2 separate regions of the Homo sapiens genome follow, and region 1 is linked to region 2. The links are contacts of gene promoters, found by promoter capture Hi-C in human tissues and cell types (Jung and others, 2019). All regions are on one chromosome and are shown on one strand. Each heading gives the region's core, a stretch centred on a gene start or on the middle of the fragment in contact. The rest is flanking DNA. Distances are from core to core; before and after follow the strand shown. Region 1 has its middle 36 kb from the start of LINC02252. Region 2 holds the start of ACTC1 (actin alpha cardiac muscle 1).

The links. The method cuts DNA at HindIII sites, captures the fragments that hold promoters and counts their contacts. A contact is called where the count stands out against the background at its distance.
Region 1: a fragment that was not itself captured here is called in contact with the fragment with the promoter of ACTC1 in region 2 in 2 of the 25 tissues and cell types used here (aorta and stomach).

What each region holds. Positions count from the first base shown.
Region 1 is chr15:34,688,407-34,695,443 of GRCh38, forward strand. No RefSeq gene overlaps it. Among named protein-coding and RNA genes, the nearest start is that of LINC02252, 36 kb to the left of the region's middle. The HindIII fragment of the contact is 7,290 bases long and covers 1-4,968 here.
Region 2 is chr15:34,792,414-34,800,024 of GRCh38, forward strand. ACTC1 (actin alpha cardiac muscle 1) reads right to left here and starts at 3,136. Exons shown (of 7, transcript NM_005159.5): 1 at 3,093-3,136; 2 at 2,267-2,417; 3 at 832-1,156; 4 at 1-156. The coding sequence starts at 2,395. All of the region lies in intron 2 of GJD2-DT (GJD2 divergent transcript), which reads left to right. RefSeq lists an enhancer at 4,283-4,754. The HindIII fragment of the contact is 17,333 bases long and covers 1-7,611 here.

The DNA of each region.
Region 1 (7,037 bases), core at 74-2,573, 110 kb before region 2:
GCTGTTACACAGGAACAATAGATTAACCGGAAGTCTTAGAGCCCTTCCTGGAACGGGTTAATCAGAACCCAACATAGTGGTTTACTCTTCAAGACGGAGTTTCTTTAGCATCCACAAACATAATTGTGAATTTATCTATTCCTCCTTGAAATTTTATCAAATTTTTTGTTTCCTGTCTTTTGAAGCATTATTATTAACGTACATAAACATTTAGGACTGTGATGTCCTCTTGATTAAGTGATTCTTTTAAAATTATAAAATAATCTTGTCTCTGAAATCTGAATCTGAAATCTACTCTGTTTGATATTAATATGACCCTTCCAGATTTTTTTTAATAGAGAGAAGCATAGTATATTTTTCCCGTCTTTTACTTTTAGCTTATTTGTGTGTTTTTATTTAATCTAAGTTTCTTATAGGGAGCAAGTTAGATCTTGCTTCTTTTATTCAATTTGACAGTCTCTGCCTCTTAATTCGGGTGCTTAGATCATTTATATTTAATGTGATTATTCATATGATTAGATTTAAATCTCCTACCTTGCTATTTTTTATTTGTCCTGTCTGTAATTTATTTCCTGTTTTCCTTTTTATTTGCTTTAGTTTGGAGTAGTTGAGTAGTTTTATGGCACCATTTATATCTTTGGTTGACTTAATAGCTACAATGTTTTGTTTGTTTTAGAGGTTGCTTTAGATTTTATAGTATGCATCTTATCATAGCCTACCTTCATGTGGTATTATATGAAGTATAAGACCCTTTCAAGTATATACTTTTTTTCTTCCAGGCCCTGGTGCAATTTTATCATAGATTTTTCTTCTTTATATTTTTTAAACTCCATACTACATAGTTATTATTGTGTTTAAACATTTAATTATTGTTATAAACTGAATTGTGTACCTCCTTCCCCATAAAAAATGTATTTGCTGAAGCCCTAATCCCGAGTACCTCAGAATGTATCTAGAGAAAGAGTCTTTAAAGAAGTGATTAAAATAAAACAAGACCATTAAAGTGGGTCCTAATCCAGTTGGACTGATGTCCTTATATGAAGAAAAAATTTGGATACAGAGACACTAGGGATGCGTACATACACAGGAAACAGCAAGAAGGTGGCTGTCTGTAAGCAGAGAGGCCTCCAAAGAAACTAAACCTGCTGACACCTTCATCTTGGACTTCTATCCTCTAGAATTGTGAGAAAATAAATTGCTGTTGTTTAAGCCACCCAGACTGTGGTATTTTGTTGGCAGCCCTAGCAAACCAGTATGATTATCTTTTTAAAGATTTAAATGATAAGAAACAAATCTTACGTATTTACATATGTAGTTAGTTATCTTTTCCAGTGCTATTCATTTCTTTGTGTATTTTCATATTTCCATTAGGTAGCATTTTTCTTCTACTCGATGGATGATATGGTTTGGCTGTGTCTCCACCCAAATCTCATCTTGGATTGTAGCTCCCATAAACCCCACATGTCATGGGAGGGACCTGGTAGGAGGTAATTGAATCATGGGAATGGGTTTTACCTGTGTTGGTCTCATGATAGTGAATAAGTCTCACAAGGTCTGATGGTTTTATAAAGGTCAGTTCCCCTGCACAGGCTCTCTTGCCTGCTGCCATGTAAGACACGCCTCTGCCCCTCCCTTGCCTTCTGCCATGATTGTGAGGCCTCCCCAGCCATGTGGAACTGTGAGTCTATTAAACTTCTTTCCTTTATGAATTACCCAGTCTCGGGTATGTCTTTATTAGCAGCGTGAGAACAGACTAATACAGTGGACTTTCATTACATTTCTTATAGACAGGTCTGCTGGTAATAATTATCTTCAGCTTTTATGTGTCTTAAAAGACCTTTATTTTACTTTCATTTTCAAAGAATATTTTCACTGGGTGTAGAAGTCTAGGTTGAGAGCTTTCTACTTTCATTTCTTAAATGATGTTGCTCCACTGTTTTCTCACTTGTGTTGTTATTGAAAAGAAATCAATTGTCATTCCTACCTTTGTTACTCTGCATGAAATTTGCCTTTCTTTCTTTCTTTCTTTCTTTCTTTCTTTCTTTCTTTCTTTCTCTTTCTTTCTTTTCTTTCTCTCTCTGTCTCTCTTTCTTTCTTTCATTACAGGATAGGGAATGCCCAAGCATGAAGGCAGAGAGAAGTGGTGGGGAGAGGGGATTTGCAAGAGAAGATAATGGGGAAAGATCTCTCTGGGGATCAGGGGAAAAGAATGGTTAAGAGCATGGACAGCCTGGATTTGAATACCAGTTCTGCACTTACCAACTGAGTTATCTAAGGCAAACTAAGTATCCTCTCTGGACCTTGGTTTCCGTTTGTATAAAATGGGGATAATATTTTCTACTCCAGAGACTTGGCATCTGAGCTGAATGAAATGATTAATATTTGTAAAGTGCTGTGACATAGAAAAAGGTATGTGTAAAATTAAGTAAACCATTAGAACACTAAGTGACTCATAATAGATACAAACCCTTTTCAATTTAAGCAGAATTGGATTTTGTTAAGAGGATATTGGCTAGCTCATAAAATGTCTAGGAGGAAGAGATGGGCAGACCACAGAGCTGGTGCCATGAAGACACCACAGGCACAAATGGCACAGATACCATAGATGCTGCATTTTGCTGATGCCATGATGTGGGACTCAGAATGTTGCCAATAGAAACTGGAGGTAGCTGCCTCCATTCTCCCCAGCAAGGATCCAGCAGCCTCCCTGCTTTCTTGGGTCACCAGCCTCTAATTTCGTGGCTGGGTTGGGTGGAGACTCATCTGAGGTGGAGGCTTATGTCTGGGGTGGAGTAGGTTAGGGCTTACTCATAGCTACAAGGGAGCTTCTATAGTGGGAAGTAAGCTCCGCCTCACAAGTTTAGGGATTTCCCACTTTGAGCAATGAGACTTAAACACTGGGAAGTTTAAAAGAATGCTAAATGGGCAGAAGCCACCAAGGAAGAAGAATTAAAGAATATTAAATGAAAGAACCAGCAAACCCATATACAAAGTATAGGCTATTTATAAATACTTATGGATCAGATCTGGGTGAGAAGTTGTTATAAGGGATTACAAAATGGATTGAAAAGGAAATAATCTAGAATTCCTTTAAGGAGGTCAGAAATAGTGCAGTAGAAATATTGTGTTTTCAAATGTAGGAACAGGAAATTATGATACTATTCCTAACCCATCATAAGGGTCATGGCCAATATTCTTATAAAAAAATACAGGTTAACTAGAGAAAATCATAATACATTTATTTAACCAAAGTTTTACACGACATAGGAGCCTTGAGAAATGAAGACCCAAAAGCCAGGAAGAACTTTCTTTTTTATGCTTGGGTTTGATGAAGAATGGACAGCTGTATAAAAATGTGATTGGACAGAAAGGGTATAATCCGAGAGCAACAGACTGAGGGGGAAAGCAAGCAAGACCTGTCTGTTCAGCTTCTTCTTGACCTCTCTGTGTAGCGTTTCTTCCTCCTAGGAAGGGGTCCCTCTGGAATGAGGGTCTTCAAGGGAGAAGGGAGAGAATGACCTTTCTAGGTTTTACGGGTGGCTTTGAGAAAGAGGAGTTCTAGTTTCTATGACCCACCTTGGGGAAGGGGAAGTGTGGCTTCTATGACTCACTTTGGGGAAGAAAGAGAAGCAGGAGACAGGAGGATGGGAGAAGATGGGAAAGACCTTGGTTCTGAGGCCTTTCCAATTTTCTTCAGTTCAAAGTACTCAGCACACCAAAGCGCCATGCTTTGGAGTATCATATTCTGAGCCCAACACAAACATAAGTTTTCCATTGTTAATTTTTCTCTACTTTCTCAGGGTCTTCATTCCTACATTCTTACAGCCCAGGCGCTTCATCCACTGGAACTCTCCTCCATTACTCCCACCCTAAGCATTATTCTACACCCCATTTTTGCTCTCAATCAACTATTGATTCATTTTCCTGCAAAGGTGTTCACCAATAATTGAGGTGGCCACTGATAAACCATCAATGTGTGGAATCTCCTAGGGAACATTTACATTTCAGGAGAAAAACAAAGCCTTTAAGCTCTGAAGGAATACAAAATGTAGGAATAGCATTTTGTGGCACAGAGTTCTCCCTGGCTCTCTGAAAAATGGCTCTAGCTAAGACATCTGCCTATATTGCCAATTCAGCTCTCTAAGTCTCCTTCCTTGTGGCTGGCTGGTTGCAAATGAGGCATACCCATCTATACACAGAAGACTTCTGAGGGTCATGCACTGAGCACATGCCCCTCTCAGGGTGCATGCACCGACCCCTACCTTTCTTTTCAGCGCCTGTTTACACCATTGCCTTTTGCCCTATGAAGACACAGTCCTCCCTAAAGCCCAGTTCACCCCGTTCTTTCCTTTCTCAAAGGTTAAAAATAGCACTCTCTTCAATGACCTCAATAATTTAGAACCCATGAATAAGTCATTTGCCCAGGAGACTACATTGGGGCTTCTATTTTTGCCTATAATCTCTCACCAAGCAAAATGACCTCTCTCATGGAGCCAACAATGACACCCGTTGCTCTTCTGGCTTCCCACAGAAAGGCACAGGCAGAGCTTGCAAAGTAGTCTTTCCTCAAGGACAAGATGGTCTGATAGGTGTCAGTGACTTCAGAATGTGAGTAACTAAACATGAACTTAGCCATGTATGCCTTGCTCAGAACTCCTGGAACTGCCCAGAGCATACTCCAAGAGGAACACATTCTATAAAATGGGGGAGGCAATTTCTGCCTATACTGGCCCTCCTCTCCAGCCCTCCATCTTTGAACCTCAATAGAAGAGCAATATGAAAGCTGCTCAGGCCCTTAAGCCCATGTGATTGCTCCTGCATTCCAACAACACCTCTCTTCAACTTACATTCCCTTGCCCCATCAACTATTTACTCTGAGCCAATCCTGTGGTCACTGAGAAACACTCCACCTCAGGTATTTGGGCCACTAGTCAACAAAAATAAGTTTGACTTTCTTCCCTCCATATTTCCATACCTAGGGGCTGTCCTAGTTCCGCTTTTCTCAACTATCCATAGGATTCCCAGCCCAAGTGTTCTGCCGGCATCTCTAGCCTCAGCCTCCAAGGGATCCATTCTCACTTTTCATTGGCCCCATGCCCAAAGCCTTCCACGCTGTTTGTGCAGCCCTGAACTATGTCAGTGGGAAGCTACATGAAACCGTGTCATATGACCTCATGCCCCATGAGTCACAAAATCATTAATTCATTCTCACTATCTCCCTCTGGAAAAATACTCTTCCTAAACCTTACTCCCTGCCCCTGCCAAAAGGAAGATATATGTATTTCAGAAAATGAGAAACTGCTTCTTTTACAGCCTATTGTTTTCCTTTATAAAATAAATAATTTTTTGTCTCACATTTCCTGAAAAGTTACCATGAGGCAAGTACAGTGCTTAATGCTTTATTGAAGCATCTCACTTATTTTTCTCTAAAAATCCTCTAAGGTGATGTTATTTCCCTCATTCTATACTGGAGAAAACTGGGGCACAGCAGCTTGTTCACAGGGGCAGAGGCAGGATTTGAACCTAGGAAGTCTTTTTCCAGAAACTACTGATCACTAAGCTCTACAGGACATAAGACCGTACCCTCTTGTTGCCTTTAGTCCACAAAGAACTCTGTAAGTAAGTTCCCACTTTTTCCTTTGAGAAGACACAATGACTTCCATTTAGTCACATCTTTGGTGGGCATTCCTTACTTCCTATCTGTGCTCTCTTTCTGCCAGTTTAGGCAATACCATCATGGACATAGAAACGGGCAAAGATTTCATGACAAAGACACCAAAAGCAATTGCAACAAAAGCAAAAATTGATATGTGGGATCTAATTAAACTAAAGAGCTTCTGCACAGCAAAAGAAACTATCAACAGAGTAAACAGACAACCTACAAAATGGGAGAAAAGATTTGCAAACTATGCATTTGACAAAGGTCTAATATCCAGCATCTGTAAGGAACTTAAACAAATTTACAAGAGAAAAACAAACAACCCCATTAAGATGTGGGCAAAGGACACAAAAAGACACTTTTCAAAAGAAGACATACCTGTGGCCAATAAGCATATAAAAAAGCCAAATATCATTGATCGTTAGAGAAATGCAAATCAAAACCACAATGAGATACCATCTCACACCAGTCAGAATGGCTATTACATAAAAAGTCAAAAAATAGCAGATGCTGGCAAGGTTGTGGAGAAAAGGGAGCACTTACACACTGTTGGTGGGAGTGTAATTAGTTCAACCATTGTGGAAAGCAGTGTGGCGATTCCTCAAAGAGCTAAAAACAGAAATACCATTAGACCCAGCAACCGCATTACTGGGTATATACCCAGACGAATGTAAATCATTCTACCATAAATACTCATGCACGCGAATGTTCATTGCAGCACTATTCACAATAATAAAGTTGTGGAATCAACCTAAACGCCCATCAATGACGGATTGGATAAAGAAAATGTGGTACATATACACCATGGAATACTTTGCAGCTGTAAAAAAAGAACAAGAGCATGTCTTTTGTGGGAACATAGATGGAGCTGGAGGCTGTTATGCTTAGCAAACTAATGCAAGAAGAGGAAACCAAATACCACATGTTCTCACTTATAAGTGGGAGCTAAATGATAACTTATGGATACGAAGAAGGAAACAACATCACCAAGGTATCAGGCCCAGTAGTTATCTACCCATAGGAGGAGGGAGAGGAGCAGAAAAAACTATTGGGTACTGGACTTAATACTGGGTGGTGAAATAATAGGTACAACAAACCCCTATAACACGTTAACCTATGTAACAAATCTTCACATGTACCCCTAAACCTAAAATCAAAGTTAAAATAGAAAAAAAAGCACAAGAAAAAAAAAAAAGAATTAGCAGGAGTGAATGCTCTTAACTGAGAGCTCCCTGGTCTAAAATTCTTAATTAATTGCTGTGGGCCTCACTGAGCCAGGGTACTTTCCATTGCCAATTCTTTTTTTTTTTTTTTCTTTTTTTTTGAGACGGAGTCTTGCTGTGTCGCCGAGGCTGGAGTGCAGTTGTGCGATCTCTGC
Region 2 (7,611 bases), core at 1,886-4,385:
TGACAAAGGAGTAGCCACGCTCAGTGAGGATCTTCATGAGGTAGTCAGTGAGGTCCCGACCAGCCAGATCCAGACGCATGATGGCATGGGGCAAAGCGTAGCCCTCATAGATGGGGACATTGTGAGTTACACCATCCCCAGAGTCCAGAACAATGCCTGCCCGGGGAAGTAGACAAGAACAAGGTAAATTCCTGAGGACAACACCACTGCTCTAGCCACGGCAAAGCCCGCTTCCAATCTTGGCTAAGAGATGCTAGCAATGGGCATTGATCCAGATAAAATTAGATTCCTTACACACAAAGAATAAAAATGCGCATCAGGAATACTAAATCTGAAGCAAACTGCAGCTCATCTTTTTAACTATTATAGTAGAAAAAATTCCCGAGGACACTTTCAAATGACCATCTTTCTTGTCAGCCACGAGCACATTATGTAAGCACCCAAGGGTGTTTTTCTTTGCTCCTATTGAACTTACACGTTTCTCTCTCTTTTGACTCAGACCCTGTATGGAATGTATTCTCCTTGGGGATGCTTGCCCAGGTGATGTGATGGTTTAAACACATAACAATGACTGCTGCACTCCAAGCTGCTACACTGCGCTGAGCTTTAAATGAGGGAAGGACCTATCTCCACAAGCTATCAGCTCCAACAATAATTGTGCTCCGAAACTAACCTCAGGGCACTACTGTTAACTCTTTCTCTTAGCACAGACCTTGCTAGGGAATGGGAGGAAAGGGATTATCCCTTTTTCAACTGGGGGATCTGATTCACAGCAAGGTCGGTGACTTGGGAATGTGATTCATCAGTAACTGTCCCCAGAGCCCAGCATACCTGTGGTACGGCCAGAAGCATACAGGGATAGCACTGCCTGGATGGCCACGTACATGGCAGGGACATTGAAGGTCTCAAACATGATCTGAGTCATCTTCTCCCGGTTGGCCTTGGGGTTCAGCGGGGCCTCTGTGAGCAGGGTGGGGTGCTCCTCGGGAGCCACACGGAGCTCATTGTAGAAGGTGTGGTGCCAGATCTTCTCCATGTCGTCCCAGTTGGTGATGATACCATGCTCGATGGGATACTTCAGGGTCAGGATGCCTCTCTTGCTCTGGGCTTCATCACCTACGTAGGAGTCCTTCTGACCCATACCCACCATAACTCCCTATGAGAAGAAAAAATGAGAAAATCATGCTCTCACCATGTCAGGAATATAATCAGTGTCTTGTCCATTTATATCTAACTGCCCAAGTCAAGGAACATATTTAAATACCAGAAATAACAAGCAATACGATTTTACCCCAATTTAGAAGAATTATTTAAAAATCAATCTTCTACCTTCTCCCCACTCCCCCAAAGATGTATAATTCTATTGTTGAGAATATAACTCAGGAGAGAATGAAGCTATTCCACTGAAGAAGCAGAGCCTCACCTCACCTTAAAAATATCATATGCCTTCATTAAGTTATTAAGCTCATCACCCATGTCAACTGGAATATAGATGACTGCATTTTGGAATGACTGAATTAATGACACATTGTATTTCTCCTAAGAAAAAGATTTTGACATTCAAGTGAACACATAATGATGGGCTGATATGCCATCCTCACTCCAACAGTGAAATTCAGCCTGTCCAGAGCTGTTCTGGAGTCATTCACCAGCTCTGAGGACTAAGCTCTCCTGCTTGGCAGCCTGTCTGGCCAGGCATGTGACAAACCCAGAGAGCATGGCATGTCTTTTAACAAACGAGGTGGTATGTCACTATCACCATGGCACTTGCTGCCTCTGTCACGCCTGGCTTCTAAAAATGCAACAGCCAGGAAGGAGATAGATTGATTACACCTTTGGGGAACCCTGTAAACTGGCTGTGAACATGAGAGAGGAATGTGGATTTGGTCCTGGTTGGTTGGGAGAGGTGATATTGTTAGAAGTTTTAAACAGGACTGAAAAGAGAGGACAAGGAAGAAAATGAAGTGTATAAGGCAGAGAAGACACTAAAGACTAAAAGTCCAAAAGGCCATTAGTGGAGAGAAGCAGGTGGCTTTCACACCAGGGAGTGGGACCCTTTTAGAGGCGTGCCACTCAGGTGTACATTCCTCAGTATGTTGGGGTTTTGTGGAGTATTGCTTGCCTTGGCTTGGATTTGAAGTCAATCAGCCTTCTCTTAATTTGGCCTAAAGAGTTCATCGAACAAGAGGGTCAGGTGAGAGCCATTTCCTAGATCGCTGGACTGAAGGGGTCCCGAGTGGGACGGGGGGCTCGGCGGGAAGTTTACCTGGTGCCGCGGGCGGCCCACGATGGACGGGAAGACAGCGCGGGGCGCGTCATCGCCCGCAAAGCCGGCCTTCACCAGCCCAGAGCCGTTGTCGCACACCAGGGCGGTGGTCTCCTCGTCGTCACACATCTTGGCACAGCTTCAGGGGGTTCTGCAGGTTGAGGAGGGGAGGGCGGACCACGCTTAGCTGCCTGTGCAGCTGGCCTTCTCCGCACCCAGAGGACAGGACAGAGCAGAAGGGGGTTGTGGGGACTGGACAGGGGGTTGGGCGGGGAACACTCCTGCCACCTCCCTTCCCCTCGAATCATAAAAGGGAGGGAAGAAGCCGCGGAGGAGACTGGGGACAGAGAAGGGCAGAGGAATCCACCCAGGCTCCCTGGCCAGGAGTTCCAGCTAGGGTGCCAGGTGCAAGGAGGGACCCAAGAAACCCAGCCCCTTAGTCCTCCCCAGCCCTTTAACTTTCTTCCTTTTCACGAACTGGGAACTCGATCTCCAGCCCTGTCCATATCGCCATGCCTGTGCCCCAGATGGAGGGGAAAGCGCACGAGAGTAGGGACCCAAAAGCCCCTTGGGGAGCCACAAAATTCCCCTTCTTAGAGCCCCTGCGAGGTCCTGCGAGGACCAACGCCCAGGACAAAACAAGTTAGAACCAAATCAAAAAGTGTGGGCTTTAAAAAAAAAAAAAAAAAGGCAGTCGCAGAGCGGCAGGAGCTGGGGCCTTGGCTGAATGCGGGCCGGGCTGGCCAGGTGGCGGCGCGGGGCTGGCGTCCGGCGCGGCCCGCGGACCAGGCGAGGAGTGAACGCGGAGGGCCGGGCGCTGACTCACCGTCGGCGGGGCGGGTCGGCTCGGCTCCGGCGGCAGCGGGCTCTGGGTGGCTGGCTCCAGGAGGGCCGCTTTATAGAACGCTGATGGACAGGGTCAGTTGGAGCAGCCGGGGGCAGGGGTGGGGGGCCCGGTCTGCCACCTTGCCTTATTTGGTCCCCTTCGCACCCGCTAGGACTGCCGAGGCCATTCATGGAGCCAAGGGCAGGGGAGAGGATCAGCCAGGGAGCCCCCAGACCATGTAAGGAAGGGGAGGGGGCAGTCAGGGGGATGGCCAAATAGGGAGCTGGGGAGGGGCAGGCGCTGAAGGGTAGGGGGCAGGGGAAGACTAAGTGACGCCAGCCCACCCCTCCCCCTTTCTGGGGTGTGGGTGCTCCCTGGATGGTCTGTGGATTCGGTCCTCCGCAGCCCTGCCAGCCTTGGGGACAATAAGCCACATGCAGTGGGAAGGCTTGGCGCCCTGCCCTCTGCTGAGGGGTCCTGACAGCTGGGCCAGGGCAGCAGGGGAGCAACAGCGGCTTCTCATCTTCCAGGGCTGCCACCAGCACAAAGGACACCGCAGCAGCACATCTGAGTGGCTGCAAAAGGGGCACCCAGGACAGGGCACCCTTCTGGTCTAGTCCCCGCCAGCCTGAATGGCTTTACTCAGAGAGCTGGTGCTGGGCTCATCTAGGTCAGAAAGCTGAGATTAACCAAGGCCACCCGAGTTCCAACCCATGCATGGATCAGGGTCTGGCCAGGGAAGAGTCAGAAAAGGGTTTCTGTGAGAGCTTGGCCAAGTCTTGCTGGAGAAGGGACCAGGTTTACCCCAGCCCAGTTATTGGGTAGCCCTCATCCATGCTGCAGGGTTTTGCTCAAATTCAGACTCTGGTCTTCAGGCCAGAAAAGGATCCCCTGCTGCCAAAGTGAATAAAGGAACAAATGCCAAAAGTAGCTTGCCCACTTGATGGTGGGGAGATGAGCATCTTTAAACTGGGGGCAGAGGCCCTCACTCCAGGTGGAGACAAGACTGCAAAGGCAAATACTTTGATGGAGAACATAGCAACAACTTAAACTATAGGACTACACCAATCCTTGCTACTCAAAGTGCAGCCCATGGACAAGCAGTATTGTCATAACCTGGAAATGAGCTAGAAATGCAATCTCAAGAGCCATCCCAATCCGCTTTTCAGCAAGATCCTCATTTGCTTGGTATGTACATTAAAGTGTGAGAAGCATTGGCATAAATGACAGATATCATCTCCTCTGTGGAAAACAGATTTTGCAGGATCTTGAACTTTTGAGAAGGAAAAAGAAAAATGACATGAAATGAGGAGAGGGAGAAGGAAGAGGGAGATGTAAGAAGGACACAGATCACTAGTTTGCCCTGGGGTGCCCTGCATTCTCAGTTCTTGACTGGAGCTTTGATTTTTAATGCTTGTGTTTTTCCTCCAGTTCACACCAGTTAAAAATAGAAAACTGGGCACTGGCATCTCTCTCTAGAGTGGTCTTGGGCTGATATGCTGAGGAGGCCTGCTGATTAGATACTTGTCCCGACTGGGGAATGCTGGGCCCTCCCCTCTGAACTCCCCAACCATGTTTGGGTTGGTCTGGAGAAGAAACGCGATGGGCAGCTGTGTGGTGGGGTCGGGTAAGAGACCTGGCTGAGATTACTCTGTGCAGCACAGCAGGCATTTTACAGTGAAAATGTTTATTGACAGGATGCCAAGAGTAGAACTGCCTTGTCTCGTGAAAATATAGAAAAACCAAGGAAAAGGAGAAATGGGACTGGTGTCAGAGCCAGACAGAACTGGGCTCAAATGCTGCCTTTATCACTTACTAACTATCTGTTTGGTCTTGAGCAAGACACTTAACCTTCCCAAGCCCCAAGTTTTCCCTCTCAAAAGTGATACCATAACACTTGTTGCAGAAGTTATTGTGTATTGTAATAGTTAGAAACAAATGCTGTAAGTAATATGGAAGATACAAAGCAAATTGTATGTGTAATAATGATACTTTTGGAGGCAGTAGTAGCTCTGCCTTTTAAAGAATCAGGTTGATTTCATTCTTCATTGATTCAGCAAATCTTTGCAGGACAAGAACTGTGCTAGTTAAGGATTCAGTGATAAATAAAACAGAGCAGGACTCATCCTCCGTGGCAATTACAGAAAAGTCAGACAGCTATGGCACAAACTGGGAGGGAAGAAGAGGTATCAGCAGGATAGTCACAAAAAGGGAATGGAGGTCTGAAAGAGTTGCCGAGAAAGCCTTCCCCAGGATGTGTTGTTCGTTTTTAAAAGTAGAGCAGAACTGAAGTTTATGAACATTTGTGTGAGAGAAAGAGTTTCTGCATGGGAGTGGCTGGTGAGAGACTCCCACTATGACTGCTATAGGTGCAAAGACTCTCAGGAATGGAAAACCATGATTATTGACCTTTGTCCTTCGCACAGGCTTCGGGGATCTAGGAGGCCACTTCCAGCCCCCTCATCTCAGGACCATTGGCTCTAGTGGGAGGCCAGTAGAACAGTGCAGGACACAACAGCAGTTTTGTGAAACAATATTCACCCTTAAAATGTTTGAAAAATGTGTTTCCTATTCCGCTCAATTTCATTGCCTAACACTCAAAACAGTGTATTTTCATATGTGTTATGTGTGTAGCAAGAACGAATGCTTATTTCTTAAAAATTTATGATTGTTTGATATTTACTATTTGTATTACCACTCAATTTCCACATTTTATTTATTTTATTTTTATGTATTTGTTTGTTTGCTTCAGACAGGGTCTCCCTCTGTTACCCAGGTATAATCAGGTGCGGTGGTATAATCAGGGCTCACTGCAGCCTCAACCTCCCAGGCTCAGGTGATCCTCCCACCTTAGCCGATTCTCCCACCTTAGCTGATCCTCCCATCTCAGCCTCCCAAACAGCTGGGACTGCAGGCACATGCCAACACACCCCGCTAATTTTTGTATTTTTTGAAGAGACGGGGTTTCACTATGTTGCCTAAGCTGGTCTCAAGCTCCTGGGCTCAACTGATCTGCCAGCCTCAGCTTCCCAAAGTGCTGGGATTACAGGCATGAGCCACCAAGCCTGGCCTTGATTTCCACATTTTAAAAACTTTGAACCCTATTTTATATATTTTAAAATGTAAACCAACAGGAAAGTAAGATTTCATGACTGAGTTTTATTTAAACTACTTTTTACAGATCCACTTAATTTGAAAATTGAGATTGGCTTTTTAAGCATATAAAAATGACATCTCAAAAAAAATTACAAAACAAAGAAGAAAAAAATGACATCTCCTCTTTGGTACATTCTAGATTTTTTTTTAATTATGGTAAAATATGCATATATCAAATTTACTATCTTAACCATTTAGGAATACAGAGTTCAAAAGTGTTCAGTGCATTCACATTGTTGTGCAGTCTCCGAGTGTTATTTTTTTTATTGCTAATTGTGACTAAATTGTGCTTCCTGCAGTTTGAGAAAGACCAGTTTATATCCTATGAGGTAGGGAACCACTGAGCCTTTTTTGTCTGAGGTCACACAGGTGAGCAAATGGTGGAGTGACAATTCAAACTCAGGCACCTGATTTTAAGCCCTATTCCCAACCACCACCAAAAATACCTTCACATATACTTGGTCTGCTATTTCTCAGAATGTGATGCTAGAACCGCCTCCAGCCAAATTACCTAGACTGCCTCATAGAAATTCAGATTCCTGGGTTCCACCCTGGAAGATTGAATCTGCATTTTAAATGAGCCCTCACTGTTCTCCCCTAGGTATGTTTCTCTGCAGAGTGAAAAACTTAGCCGCACTGCTTGGCTGTTCTCTCTGAAGCCCACAGAGCTTTGCTGGATGCTGCCCAAGCTGCCAGTGCTGGCTGGAGTCCAGGTTGGCTGACCTTGTAGATCCCAGTGGGATGGCAGAGCTGGGGCGGGTCCCCAGGGCTCTTGAGGGCCAGTGAAGCCCTTTTCGGCGTGGACTGGCCATGAGGGAGACGTGCAGGGCAAACTGAAGGAACAGAAGGTGGGACAGTTCCCACTGCCCTTGCCTCGGGGGAAGTCTGTTTCATCCACCATCTGCTGGGATCTGGAAGGGAGCGGCCCAGCCTCCTCCCCGGCACTGGGGGATTAGCAGTCACTTATCTCAGCTGTTCCTCCGTTCGGAGGTGTCACAGTATTTACAGAGAAGCCAGAAACAGACAGAGCCACACTTAATTCCTCCCCATGAGCCCTCCCCATCACCTCCTGTCCCTCCTGCATTCTGTGTGCCGGGGGAGGGAGAGCCTCGGTTTAGATCAGACCGGGGGGAGGATCTAGCCTTCCTAAACATTCCTATTTTCTTTGCCTACACATTTGTTCACCCCCACTGCCCTCTGGCTGGATCTGGGTTTCAGTTTTCATTGAAAGGAGAAAGTGACATGATGGTGAGGGCTGCAGGCCCCCACACATCCTGGTGTTCAGAGTCCAATATATGAGGCATGGCTAATCTTCACAGCATACTTCCCCGTGTTTTATATGCAACCACCAAGGGGATTAACC